Linked DNA regions of Homo sapiens: all the other regions are linked to region 4. Evidence: promoter capture Hi-C in human tissues and cell types (Jung and others, 2019). All regions are on one chromosome and are shown on one strand. Each heading gives the region's core, a stretch centred on a gene start or on the middle of the fragment in contact. The rest is flanking DNA. Distances are from core to core; before and after follow the strand shown. Region 1 overlaps TMEM8B (transmembrane protein 8B). Region 2 has its middle 11 kb from the start of HRCT1. Region 3 overlaps RUSC2 (RUN and SH3 domain containing 2). Region 4 holds the start of TPM2 (tropomyosin 2).

The links. Contacts are between HindIII fragments. The study calls those that stand out against the background at their distance.
Region 1: a fragment that was not itself captured here is called in contact with the fragment with the promoter of TPM2 in region 4 in 6 of the 25 tissues and cell types used here (bladder, heart left ventricle, liver and 3 more).
Region 2: a contact is called between a fragment that was not itself captured here and the fragment with the promoter of TPM2 in region 4, in 4 of the 25 tissues and cell types used here (heart left ventricle, lymphoblastoid cells, mesenchymal stem cells and 1 more).
Region 3: a fragment that was not itself captured here is called in contact with the fragment with the promoter of TPM2 in region 4 in 2 of the 25 tissues and cell types used here (lymphoblastoid cells and thymus).

The regions. Positions count from the first base shown.
Region 1 is chr9:35,858,779-35,862,009 of GRCh38, reverse strand. TMEM8B (transmembrane protein 8B) reads right to left here. Exons shown (of 13, transcript NM_001042590.4): 13 at 1-3,231. It also overlaps the pseudogene OR13E1P. Among named protein-coding and RNA genes, the nearest start is that of OR13J1, 10 kb to the left of the region's middle. The HindIII fragment of the contact is 4,522 bases long and covers 1-3,231 here.
Region 2 is chr9:35,894,106-35,897,226 of GRCh38, reverse strand. No RefSeq gene overlaps it. Among named protein-coding and RNA genes, the nearest start is that of HRCT1, 11 kb to the left of the region's middle. RefSeq lists an enhancer at 1,338-1,837. The HindIII fragment of the contact is 7,635 bases long and covers 1-3,121 here.
Region 3 is chr9:35,554,656-35,557,887 of GRCh38, reverse strand. It overlaps RUSC2 (RUN and SH3 domain containing 2), which reads right to left. Exons shown (of 12, transcript NM_014806.5): 3 at 2,187-2,828; 4 at 1,751-1,936; 5 at 1,440-1,580. Among named protein-coding and RNA genes, the nearest start is that of CIMIP2B, 7.6 kb to the left of the region's middle. The HindIII fragment of the contact is 7,099 bases long and covers 1-3,232 here.
Region 4 is chr9:35,688,182-35,691,521 of GRCh38, reverse strand. It overlaps TPM2 (tropomyosin 2), which reads left to right and starts at 1,597. Exons shown (of 9, transcript NM_003289.4): 1 at 1,597-1,818; 2 at 2,251-2,376. The coding sequence starts at 1,705. RefSeq lists a silencer at 180-259 and an enhancer at 3,155-3,340. The HindIII fragment of the contact is 5,966 bases long and covers 1-3,340 here.

The sequences.
Region 1 (3,231 bases), core at 523-3,022, 170 kb before region 4:
TAGTTAAAGGTCAGTTACTGACCAAGATTACCCAAGTGCCCCTATATGTTCCTGAAACTGTCCTTTAAGAATCACCCTGATTCAGGGTAGAGGAAGGAAATCCTGCACAGGCTCTGGAGAAAGCTGGTGTCATGGAGGACACTGGAGCCCTTGTCCAGGAGGTGGCTAGTATAGATGGAGCAGGAACCTGTAGATAGAGGAGGCACCTGTAGCTGATGATGGATGCCATCCTCCATCCAGCCTCAGTAACAGGTCATTGCACCCCCCGGGGCAGCACCTTCAGGTGTATGTTTCCTCTGAGCTACATAGCATCCCAGTCTTCAAGGAGGAAGCTGAGTCTGAGAGAGGTCAAGTGTCTTGGTCAGTGTCACACAGCTAGTCTGAACTACAGCCAGGAGGCAAAGCTGGGTTTTGGAGTCGTGCATTCGCTATCTGCTGGGTGCCTGCTATTGGCAGCACTTGCTGCATGAGGTGCTGGTAGGAAGGAGGCAGAGTCCTGCTCTTAAGGTGTAGTAGAGAAGACAGGTGCACCACAGCGCACAATGACACAGAGGGATGGCCAAGGGCAGTGGGAGCACAAGAAGGCAGCAGGTAACAGCAAGGGGAAGGAGAGGGAGGAAAAGAGATGGAGCAGTGCTGGGCTCTGGAGAATGGGCAGAACACCCCCCACTGGGGATGGGCGGGAGGACACGCCTCCATCTCGGACAAAGGTGCGGAGCTGGGAAAAGAGATGGTTTCTTCAGGAAAGGGTGAGCCCTGCAACTCGACAAATCGTGGATACAACGAAACAGGAGGAATAAGAGAAAGAAGAAATCTAGCCCGGAAGGACAGACAGGGCTCCACTGCTGTCACAAAGCACTGTCCTCACAACCAACCCAGGAGCGAAGGGCAGGAGGGGAGAGGTGGATTATATCTTCTGAGTGATAAAAGTTCACACTCAGCTCCTATTTTTCCTTCAGACCAGGGGCCACCTGGCCATAAGACATTTTTCCAGTTCTAACAAGACTACTGTTCTCTGGACACACCTGGGCTTCCTCCTAGGAATACCTGACGCTGGCCTTTCCCGAGGAGAAGTGAGAGCAGCTCTGCATGGCGATGGAGGTCACCTGGGAGAGACCACAGCCTCGCCCACCGCTCCCTTTGCAAAGCTGGTCACAACTGACCGCACCTCCACCAGATTCGTGCCTGGCTTCCCTCCTCGTGTGACATCATTGTCAGTATCATTTCTCCTACAAAGCAATATGGAGGCCAGAAAGTAAGTTGCTTGGCTTTCATGACCACAGTTCAGTCCTGTGACCAGTAACTCTATTGAGACATGTACGTTCTTATGTGTCCTTTTAAACAAAATAATGAATGGTCCATGATTCCTTAAGGAGAGATGACCAGAAATCAAGCTTACACATCCTATGGGGCTGAAATATTTGATCTTCATGGCCCAAGGAACACTAGGTGAGCATCATCCATTACCCACCTGCCTTCCGGAGCTCATCTCACCTGACTCAGGGAGTGGGGCAGCGCCTGTGACAGGTGTGGAATCCTTTTGTCCACTTACTTTCCTTACTGCTATAGCCCCAGCACCTGATACCTAGCACAGAATAGGTACTTAATAAATACTTAGTGGATGAATAAATCTGAAATACTATGGCCATAATTTGGTCACATGAAACCGTAATGTAGAAAAGATGCTTCCTGTTAATGACCAAAAACACTTTGGATTCCAAACGATCATTTTAAACATGAATCTTTCTCTGCTGTCTCCTCTGACCCCATCCTGGGGAGAGCAGAGAGGAGCCTAGGGGACTAGAATGTGCCCCATCCTCCCCTCAGTGACGTCCACAGAACTGCAGCGCTGAGAAGGCCAGATTGCAGATCTGAAGTCCAACTCCCTCATTATACAGATGGTGAAACTAAATTCCAGAGAGGGAGGCTGACCTGCTGCAGCTCAGACATCAGGTCACTGGGCTCCCAGGCCAGTTGGAGCTTTTTCCAAAAAGCTGGGTGGTCCAGATGGAAAAGGAGAGAGAATGAGATGAAGTGGGCAAACCAGACAGCTGTGACGGAATACGTCCTGATGGGGCTACACGAGCACTGTAACCTGGAGGTGGTCCTGTTTGTGTTCTGCCTGGGCATCTACTCCGTGAATGTGTTGGGGAACGCCCTCCTCATAGGGCTGAACGTGCTGCACCCTCGCCTGCACAACCCCATGTACTTCTCAGCAACCTCTCCCTCATGGACATCTGCGGCACCTCCTCCTTTGTGCCTCTCATGCTAGACAATTTCCTGGAAACCCAGAGGACCATTTCCTTCCCTGGCTGTGCCCTGCAGATGTACCTGACCCTGGCGCTGGGATCAACGGAGTGCCTGCTGCTGGCTGTGATGGCATATGACCGTTATGTGGCTATCTGCCAGCCGCTTAGGTACCCAGAGCTCATGAGTGGGCAGACCTGCATGCAGATGGCAGCGCTGAGCTGGGGGACAGGCTTTGCCAACTCACTGCTACAGTCCATCCTTGTCTGGCACCTCCCCTTCTGTGGCCACGTCATCAACTACTTCTATGAGATCTTGGCAGTGCTAAAACTGGCCTGTGGGGACATCTCCCTCAATGCGCTGGCATTAATGGTGGCCACAGCCGTCCTGACACTGGCCCCCCTCTTGCTCATCTGCCTGTCTTACCTTTTCATCCTGTCTGCCATCCTTAGGGTACCCTCTGCTGCAGGCCGGTGCAAAGCCTTCTCCACCTGCTCAGCCCACCGCACAGTGGTGGTGGTTTTTTATGGGACAATCTCCTTCATGTACTTCAAACCCAAGGCCAAGGATCCCAACGTGGATAAGACTGTCGCATTGTTCTACGGGGTTGTGACGCCCTCGCTGAACCCCATCATTTACAGCCTGAGGAATGCAGAGGTGAAAGCTGCCGTCCTAACTCTGCTGAGAGGAGGTTTGCTCTCCAGGAAAGCATCCCACTGCTACTGCTGCCCTCTGCCCCTGTCAGCTGGCATAGGCTAGGTTGTGCTGTGGTCATGACCTCAAACCTTGAGAGGCTTAAAGCCATTAAGGTTTGTTTCTTGCTCCTGATGCAGGTCCACCAGAGGCTGGTGGGGCTTCTGCTCCGCATCATGGTCTTCACCCCTCTGGGACTCAGGATGACAAAACAGCTACCATTGGGAACACTGCTGGTCACCATGACAAAAAGAAAAGGGAAAGTAACAAAGCCTACACTGACTCTTAAAG
Region 2 (3,121 bases), core at 315-2,814, 210 kb before region 4:
GAGTTAATTTAAAAATTCAAATTTTTAAATAAAACTTAATTTAAATTTTTGACCAGGAGCAGTGGCTCATGCCCATAATCCCAGCACTTTGGGAGGCTAAGGCAGGCAGATCATTTGACTCCAGGAGTTCAAGACCACCCTGGCCAACATGGTGAAATCCCATCTCTAAATAATAATAATAATAATAATAATAATAATAATAAATTTAGATTCTAAAATTTAAAAATAAAAATACAAAATCGGTGATTTTCCTACATAACAGTAATTACTAATTCAAAGACAGAATGAAGGCATTATTGAAACTTAAAACAAAAATTATAAAACTTCTAAGAACAAACAAGAATAAACTTAACAAGAGATGTGGAAGACCAATGAACAAAAGAAAAAGCAAGTCTTCACTGACAGCTGTGAAAGAAGACCTGACTAACCGAAGCACCACACCATGTGTCTGAAAGGGAGGAGCCCGCATTATAGTCCAGGCTGCACTTCAGGGGATATGGATCCTGTGAGACTTGCAAACAACCTGCCACAAGCATCTGTTAAATAAATTCTTATATGCTATAGAGGTAATATTTTTGAAAAGTAGTAATATACTTTTTTTGAGATAGGATCTTGCTCTGTTGCCCAGGCTAGAGTGCAGTGGCATGATCAGAGCTCACTGCAGCCTCTACCTCCTCCCAAACAATCCTCCCGCCTCAGCCTCCCAAGTAGCTGGGACTCCAGGTGTGTGCCACCACGTCTGGCTAACTTTTTTATTCTTTGTAGAGACGTGGTCTCGCTATGTTGCCTAGACTGATAACCTGCTCTTTAAAGTTACTTTTCCAAATATGTAAGTTTCTTCCTAGTTGTTCCAGAGCATTTGTCTGGAGAGAGAGTTGAATTATTACAAAAAGAATGCAAGGAGAAGGACTTTAATATGCATGCAGTCTTTGACCTTCAAAATTGGACTTTGCCCTGTAAGTCAAGCCAGTTTCCTAAGAGGATTTTCCAAATTCTTTTTTCTCTCCCTTTCAACACACTGAATCAAGGACCAAACGAGGACCCAGCCCATGCAGATCTCCTATAACGTAGAAAGCTCCTCCATTCCACATGCGACAGCCATGTAGCCGAAGTTTGAAGCTCTAAGGTAGATGGAGGCCATGATATCCAGGCCTGGGAGAAGCCTGGTTCCTTCTGGCCCCAAAGGATGATGGGAAGGAGAGAGAAGAAAGGCATGAAGTGCAAAATGTGTGCAGCAGCTGCTAGGGAGCTTCAAAAACAAATGGGGAAGGCTACAGGAAGACAGGGCTAGAGGTGAATACACTGAGGCACTGATGTTATTTGGATGGGGAGTGTGGTCTGCAAAATCTAGGAATTCATGAAAATGTGACCTCATTTGTACATGCAGGGTGGTTAGTGCTGGCAATGTTTGTGTTACACCTATAAACACGCACAGACAGAAGTCTGAAGAGCTACAAGATGCAATCTTTATAGGGCTTCCTCTGAGCAGTGAGTTTGCAGGTGACTGCTTTTTATTTGGCATTTCTACATTTCTAAAACTTGCAACAATAAACATTTTACTTGTATAATAATGAAAGCAACAAAAGTTACAGCACCTTTAGAAAAATATTCAGAAGCATGCCCACCAAGTAGAACAGGTCTGCAAAGTGATCCACCTATTCACCAACGAAGAGAGCAGCTAGACCCCAGAATCATAAGCTTCATTGGTGTCATTTTAAAGATGCCAGCCAGGCGCGGTGGCTCATGCCTGCAATCCTAGCACTTTCGCAGGCCAAGGGCGGCGGATTGCCTGAGCTCAGGAGTTCGCAACCAGCCTGGGCGACACAATGAAACCCCATCTCTACTAAAATACAAAAAAATTAGCCAGGTGTGGCGGCGTGCGCCTGTAGTCTCAGCTACTCAGGAGGCCAAGGCAGGAGAATCGCTTGAACCCGGGAGGCAGAGGTTGCAGTGAGCCGAGATCGCGCCACTGTGCTCCAGCCTGGGTGACAGAGCGAGACTCTGTCTCAAAAAAAAAAAAAAAAGATGCCAACAGGTGGAAGAGGTCTCCTAGATTCACTGTCCTTGGGGATGTGTGGGAGCTGATTAATCCAAGGGGACTGCTTCTCCTGCCTTCCCTGGGCAGCATGTCCATGGGCTTTGAGACATGTATATGCAGTAAACATAGTGAACTTTCTTGAGCCTAAGTTTGCCCTCATGCACAACGAGGGAAGAACTGGAGACAGATTGAATCTGTGCAGTCTAAGATTTATTGCTCTCTGGATTTTCAAGTCTCTGTAATTTTCTGAAATCATTATCTAAAGATAATTGTGACACTTAGAATTATATTCATTGATATAACTAACATCTGTTGAACTAGACTCTGTGCCTGGTGCTGAGGCTGGGTAGAAAAAAGACAATCCATGCCTTCCAAGAGCTTTTTACCTAGGACAGGAGACAGAAATATAAATTATTACAACACACTGGGTAAATTCTGGGACCTAAATATTCACAAGGAAAGCACAAAAGGAGTCATTCATAAGCAATAATCTCCTTTCCTTTTCCTCCCCAACTATTTTAATAATTGCTAGAATAATTACACTTTACAAATGTATCTTTAGATCTCACAACAAACCTATTGTCCTCACATTACATAGGAGGCTTAGAGAGTTAAAGCTCTCACTGTTGCCCGGCATGGTGGCTCACCCCTGTAATCCCAGCACTTTGGGAGGCCAAGGTGGGTGGATCACCTAAGATCAGGAATTCGAGACCAGCCTGACCAACATGGTGAAACCCCATATCTACTAAAAATACAAAAAAATAGCTGGGTGTGTAATCCCAACTACTCAGGAGGCTGAGGCAGGAGAATCGCTTGAACCTGGGAGCAGAGGTTGCAGTGAGCCGAGATCGTGACACTGCACTCCAGCCTGGAGGATACAGTGAGACTCTGTCCCCCAAAATAACAAATAAATAAATAAAGCACCCATTCTGGGTCACGCAGTAGTAAATGACAGAGCCAGAATCAAGTGCAGACCTGTCTGACCCCAAAGCCTACCTCTAACCCAGAACAATATTGTGCTAGGCTGAGAGATGTAACCGAGTATGATGCTTCACTCAGAAAGCTTGCTCTCTGATGGGAAAG
Region 3 (3,232 bases), core at 594-3,093, 130 kb after region 4:
GTCCCTGAGCAAGTCCTTAACCAACTCAGCTGGGGCTGAAACCTCAGGTTTCCTCAGGGAAAGGGCTCCCACACTTACTCCGTCTCCACATCTGCACATGGGTCTTATCAAAACATTCAGGCCTGGCCCTTTTCTGGTTCTGCCCAGTTCTTAAGCTCTTCCTGTCTTTACTTCCCAGCCTGGAGCTACCTCAGTGATGCCACTGTCAAGCCTCTCAATGTCCTTACCTCTCAGCCCTTATTCCAATCCTGGGTCAGGCCAACTATCGGTTTTCTCCACTCTGAGAAACCGGGCCACTGACCTGAAGAAAACCCAAGTCCCTCACCCCAGTGCCAGTGCCAGACAAGGGCGGTTCTTTGACACATGGCTTGTCAGCACTCTCTGCCATACCCTCAAGTTGCCATGTGAAATCGACACCCCTCCTCTCAAGCCCTTGGTTCTGCTTCAGAGAACAGAGTTCCCTAGTTATAAACTCCTTTAACTTCCCTCTACCTCCAAAATCCATAACAATCTCATATGTACACCCCTCACTCCCCTGCCCACTTGCATCCCCTTCGCGTCCTGGAGGAAGGTGGCCGTTTCCCTTCTTGCCCGGGTTCTTTCTCCCTGAGCTCTGATTCTCCCCTTCTGCCTTTGCAAGGAACTTCAGCTCTCTCTTCACAGGCTCATCTTCAGCCCACAATTATGCTCAGTTCTCTCCATCTCCCTAAAAATGTTCTTAGTTCAGTGGTCACTTATTTGCTAAATAGTGTGGGTCTTGTCAATCTTCATCTTACTAGATGTCACCAACACTCTTACCCAAGCTGCTGGGCCCTCTAGTACCTTCACCCGCCCCCTCCAAGAGCACTGAGGCATTTTTTGATGACATGGAAGCCTCCTCATGAGACTTTGCTCACTGCAGGAAGGGACCGGAGCGTGACTCTGAAAGCCTCTGATGAATGACCCTTGCTCACTCACATGCACTCATGATACACAGCACACAGCTTCCTCCTCTGGCCCCAGAGCCTGTGTGCTCCAACACCTTCCCAGCACCTGGAGATTTGTTTGTGGTTTTCTTTTGAAAAGGAGTTTTCAGTTTTGTTGCCCAGGCTGGAGTGCAATGGTGTGATCTTGGCTCACTGCAACCTCCACCTCCTGGGTTCAAGTAATTCTCCTGCCTCAGCCTCCCGAGTAGCTGGGATTACACGCGCCCACCACAACACCCAGCTAATTTTTTTTTGTGTTTTTAGTAGAGATGGGGTTTCACCATGTTGGCCAGGCTGGCCTCGAACTCCTGACCTCATGATCCACCTGCCTTGGCCTCCCAAAGTGCTGGGATTACAGGCGTGAGCCACTGGGCCCAGCCAGCACTTAGAGGTTTCAGACTGGCTAGGTAGTAGGGCAAGTGTGAGGAGGTAGTGACAGCAGAGTCCCTGGCCTGAGCTGGGGGTTGTATGCACCTTTTTTCTGAAGCAGGTCAATGGAAATGGCCTCTGAGCTGCCATCTGGGGACAGACAAAACTCAGCTGGAGGCTTCTCCGTCAAGGAAAAGGGGTCCTGGAAGTCAGGGCAGGTCAGTGGTAACGGCTTCACTGCTTGGCCTGGAAAGAAGAGAAAAATCAATCCTGAGCAACTCTCAGTGCAGGAGTTCCAGGCCAGTTCAGTGCCTCGTACCGTCTGAGACACGTTCCTTTGGGACTGACCCCTTCTCTAGCCCTTTCCAGCCATGGCAGAGCCTGCCCCGGGTGTACTGGGGACCCTGCTCACACACCATTCAGCCGGCAGTTCAGATGGCTGGCAGCACTGAGGGAGCCAGGGAACTCAAAGATAGGGTTTCTTCGGGCCAGCCGAGCTTCTTGTGATCTTCGGTCTAGGCTCCCTGACAAACCAGGTGGCCCTAGTGGGTTCTTCCTCCTGTATTCCCGCCACTTGAGGGCTTGAGGGGATAGGTGGTTGGCTGGAAGCAGAACAGATTAGCAGAAAGACAAGAGTTGGCAGGAGACAGCGAGACAGAGTTTCACATCCACCCAGTGGGCCCATATGAAACACTAGATTATCTGTGGATATTATCTACAGATGCTGAGGGAGGGATGCAGACATCCTAACCTCTGGCCCCAGGTGAGAGTGTAAGCAACCACTCAAAGGGGAGGTGGTGGAAGTGCTTGCGTGAGGTGGCGGGTTGGGTAGGGAGATGCTGGAGCTCGTACCATTACTGGGCCTGGTGGCCATGCTGCCCTCACCACCTCCCCGGGCCAGGCTCTCTGCTCGGCTGAGGCCAGATCGCCAGGAGCCCAGAGGCGGCAAGCTTCCTGTTCCATGGAGCCGGTACTCAGTCAAGGTCAGTATCTTCTGATCCTCCTTCTGCGGCTGCTGGGAGGTGGCAGGCCGGACAGCAGAAGGACAGGAGTGGCTCCATGGGGGCAGGCTTTCTGTGGCTGTGGGCTGCTCTGGGGGAGGGGAGCACGAAGTGGAGGCAGAAGAGTCAGTGCTGGGCCCAAAGGGGCCAACACTCCGGATGGGGGAGTAGCTGCCCAGGGGCGATGGCCGAGAGGTCTCTGGCTCAGACCCAGCTTTCCTGGCACCTCTGCCAGTGGCTCGGGGAGTGGATGCCTGCGGTTCCCCTGAGGGAGCTGGGACTGAGACTTGAGCAGCAGGGGCAGCCAGTGGGGCAGGCTGCTGTGTACGGCTGCAGCCTGAGAGGCTGTAGAGCTGGGAAAGGCTGTGGAGGGCCCGGGCCTTGGCCAGCTGCTTGGGGAAGTGGTGCTGGAACACGAAGGGCTGGATGGGCAGTGTGGTTGGCCTCTGTTCCTTGCTGTAGCGAAGGACTGGTCGGCTCTCGGTGCCACCCCCTGTAGCAAAGGGATGGAGAAGAAATCAGTAGACAGACACTGAAACCCATATGAGAGAAAACCCAGAAGCAGAGATGGGAGAGGGGAGAGGGGCAGGGACCTGGCTGGCAGGAATTGAATGGGGTAGAAGTTCGTGGAATGGGACACTGCTCCCCTCTTTTGTAAAACGCTTCCTATTGCTTTTATGGTGCTGGACTGTCTTGTACCTCTCTGCTGTTCAGTCCCTCTTCATTTTCTTGACTCCAAAGGTGAGTGTATCTTAAGGCTCAACTCTTGCATCTCACCTTACACTTTATTTCTTGAGAAGTTTTGAGTTCAGACTTCTACGGGATGACTCCCAAACCCACAGCTTTAGCCTGGACCTTCCTCTTCATCTCCAGATCATTCTGCTTTATAGTTCTGCT
Region 4 (3,340 bases), core at 348-2,847:
ACCCGAGGAGGAACCTCCTTGGTAGAAGGCAGCCTCTCCAGGATTAGGTGGTTGTGAGACGCGAAGGGCAGGGGATACCCAGTGGTCTAGCATAGGCTACTGGTGGATGAGGCGTCTTCCACGGAGTTAGAGGAACACTGCGAGGTCAGGCCAGGGTTGCTCTCCGTGTGGCTAGCAGGCAGCTAAACAGATCTGAATGCATTTCCACGCCACCTCCCCACCGCCCCGGCCAGCGGCCTCGGGTTCCCACGGTCCCCAGCCCACTGCAAAATCCAGGCCTCCCGCCCCTCTATGACTGGAGGGTGGGGGCGAGGCTAGCAGCTCCCTCCCGGCTTCCTCCGCTTGTTCTCTCCTCCCCTTCCCCCTCCTCCCGGCGGCTCTCCACTTCCTTTCCCCCCACCCCACCCCAGGGAAAAACGAAAACAAACACCCTCGCGCCTCGCGCCTCCGACTCCCAGACCCCACGACCCGGCTCCGGCGCTGGTTTGGCGGCCTGGGTGGGAGAAGGCACCTCGCCCCGGACCCCCTATGCCCCGCAGCTCAGTGACTCTTCCCCTCGCCCTCCGCCTTCCCCGCCGCAGCCCGGCTCCGCCTCCCAATGGGGAAACATCCCAAAAAAGGGCAGAAAAGAAATTTCAGCATAAAGTTGGCCCACTGGGAAAGAGAGGAGCGTCCGCGGGGAGCGGGGGAGAAGAGGGAAGGCGCGCGGAGGGGAGTGGGGCCAGGCGGAGCCAGGGGCGGGGAGCGGAGGGGCTCGGGACGCGTCCGGGTGGGAGCGGGGGCGGGGAACGCGCGGTGACCAGCCTGGCCGCAGCCGCGTGGAAAATATGCGGGGCACGTGGGGGGCGGGGCGGGGAGCTGGGTCCTGAGCCGCCGGGTGCTCGCAGGAAGGGCCTGGCTCCAGGGGCAGGGGCTGGGAGGGGAGGCGAGGGGATGAGAGGTCAGGCCGGTCCTGGGGGCAGCAAGCCCGGCCACACTCCCCACCGCGACCGGGGCTCTGGGCTCGCTTCCTGCTTCAGTTTCCCCAAGCTCCCGATGAGACTCCGCTACTACCACCACGTCGATAACGCAAACCTAGAGGGACTCAGGGTAAACTGAGGCACTCAAACTGCCGAGGAGCTCCGCCTCCCGAGAGACATTTAATCCGGGGGGATTTGCAGGAAACTTCTAAATTAAGGGTAGCGGCTGCTGCAGCTGAGGGGGGGCACGCCGGTCCCTGCGCCCGGGCAGCTGCCGTGAGCTCACGCCCCGAAATAGCCCCAGGGGCCCCAGCCGCAGCTGCCACTGGGTCCGGCTGTCACTCAGAGGAAGCACGGAGCCCCCAGCCCAAGGGTCCCCTCCCCTTCGCATCGCCGGGGTTTTTCCAGCCGACCGTCGGCCACTTTTTCCTCCGACGGCTGGCAGGGAAGAGGGGGATGGGGGCGGGACCCCAAGGGAGGCGGTCCCCAGTGGGTGGGCGAAGGGGGCGGCCGCACCCCCCGGCCGGGCCGTGCTTCTGCCCCTACAAGGTTTGGGCCGAGGTGGGGGAGGGTCCTGGTTGCCGGCCCCGCCCGGTCCCTCCCCGCCTTTTAGGCGCCCGCGTGGCCGGGACGTCCCAGTCCCGCTCCGTCCTCCTCGCCTGCCACCGGTGCACCCAGTCCGCTCACCCAGCCCAGTCCGTCCGGTCCTCACCGCCTGCCGGCCGGCCCACCCCCCACCGCAGCCATGGACGCCATCAAGAAGAAGATGCAGATGCTGAAGCTGGACAAGGAGAACGCCATCGACCGCGCCGAGCAGGCCGAAGCCGACAAGAAGCAAGCTGAGGACCGCTGCAAGCAGGTTAGGGCCGGGCCCAGTGCAGCCTGCTCTCCCCGCGCCTAGGGCAAGGGTGGGCCGCTGCCATGGGTCCCCCAGCCCCGGGCCTGCCCGCCAAGGCTCTCTCTCACCCAGGGTGGGGGCTGGGCCTTCGCAGTACCCTCAGGGCCTTCGCCAGAGCCGCTTCTCTCCCCTACAATAGCCTGGGGAAGCCCCAGGCCCCTGGTTTCCACTCTGCCTTTGCAGAGCGCGGTTGGTCCTGCTCCTTGGGGCCTGAAGTTTTCTCTGTACCCTCAACGGGTCCCACCAGTACCCTTGACTGTACTGTCCCTTTTATGTTATTCCGCTTCCATCCCAGTAGCCTCCAAATCTTAGTAGCGCCCCTACACACACCGCGTCTCCATTCTGGGCCTGGGCCCCCTCCCAGCCTGGCTGACCAAGTCCCCTCTGTCCCAGCTGGAGGAGGAGCAGCAGGCCCTCCAGAAGAAGCTGAAGGGGACAGAGGATGAGGTGGAAAAGTATTCTGAATCCGTGAAGGAGGCCCAGGAGAAACTGGAGCAGGCCGAGAAGAAGGCCACTGATGTGAGTGTGGACTTGGGGGACAATGGGAGGAGTTAGGGCTCTGGGAAGGGGCCCCCCGGGTATGGGAATAAGAGGATTGGGGCACCTTATCCCCTTATGTCCCCAGCGCCAGGAGAGAAATGGTTTCATCTCAGTAACCAGGGCTAGGGTAAACTTACACAAGTAATCCAAGACAGTGGATAAATCAAAACCACCTACCACTTCCCCCAGAGGACTTAGCCCTGTAATTCTGTTTGGTTCCAGCTTTTAGAATGTACAGTGATCAAGCAATGAGTCATTGTGGGGGTGGAAGGTATAAGAATTTACCATCTACCTCAATTAATCCTCCAGCTGAAATTGGAGAGGAGACTGCAGCCGTTTGGGGATGGGGGGATGTGGATGTGAGGTACTAGCCTGCAGGAGGAGGGAGAGGGATCCAGAGATGAGACCCCACTTGAGTTACAACCCTAAGGGGCCATTAGAAATTCCCTGGCCTTGACCTCTGGCTTCAGCAGCCCTGCTGTGCCCTGGGGCCCCAGCTCAGGTTCTAATGGCTCCTCATTTACCCTCATTAAGCTGTCAGCCTGGAGACCATGCCAGGCCACAGGGCAGAGGGACAGGGCCACAAATGCCAAAGCAGCTACCTTGGCAGGTCATTTACCCTGAGATTTCTCTGCCCACCCCACAACCCCAACCAGACTTCACTTCCTGCCATTCCCAACCCCCAGCTTAAGGTAGGAGAATGGCCATATGGCTTTGGTGTGGTGGTAGTTTCCCCATTCTCTGCCTCAGTTTCCCCATCTTCCTTCCACCCAGGATTGTTTTAAGATGAACCTATGGTTAGATTAGCATAAAGCATGGTCTGAACATCAGAGATGACATAGCTGTTTGTGTCGACTGCTCATGTTCCCAGCCCCCCAGGGGTTGGGCTTCTGTGACCTCCAGCCTCCAGTTTTGGTTCTCCACCAGTCCTGGCACTTGGGAG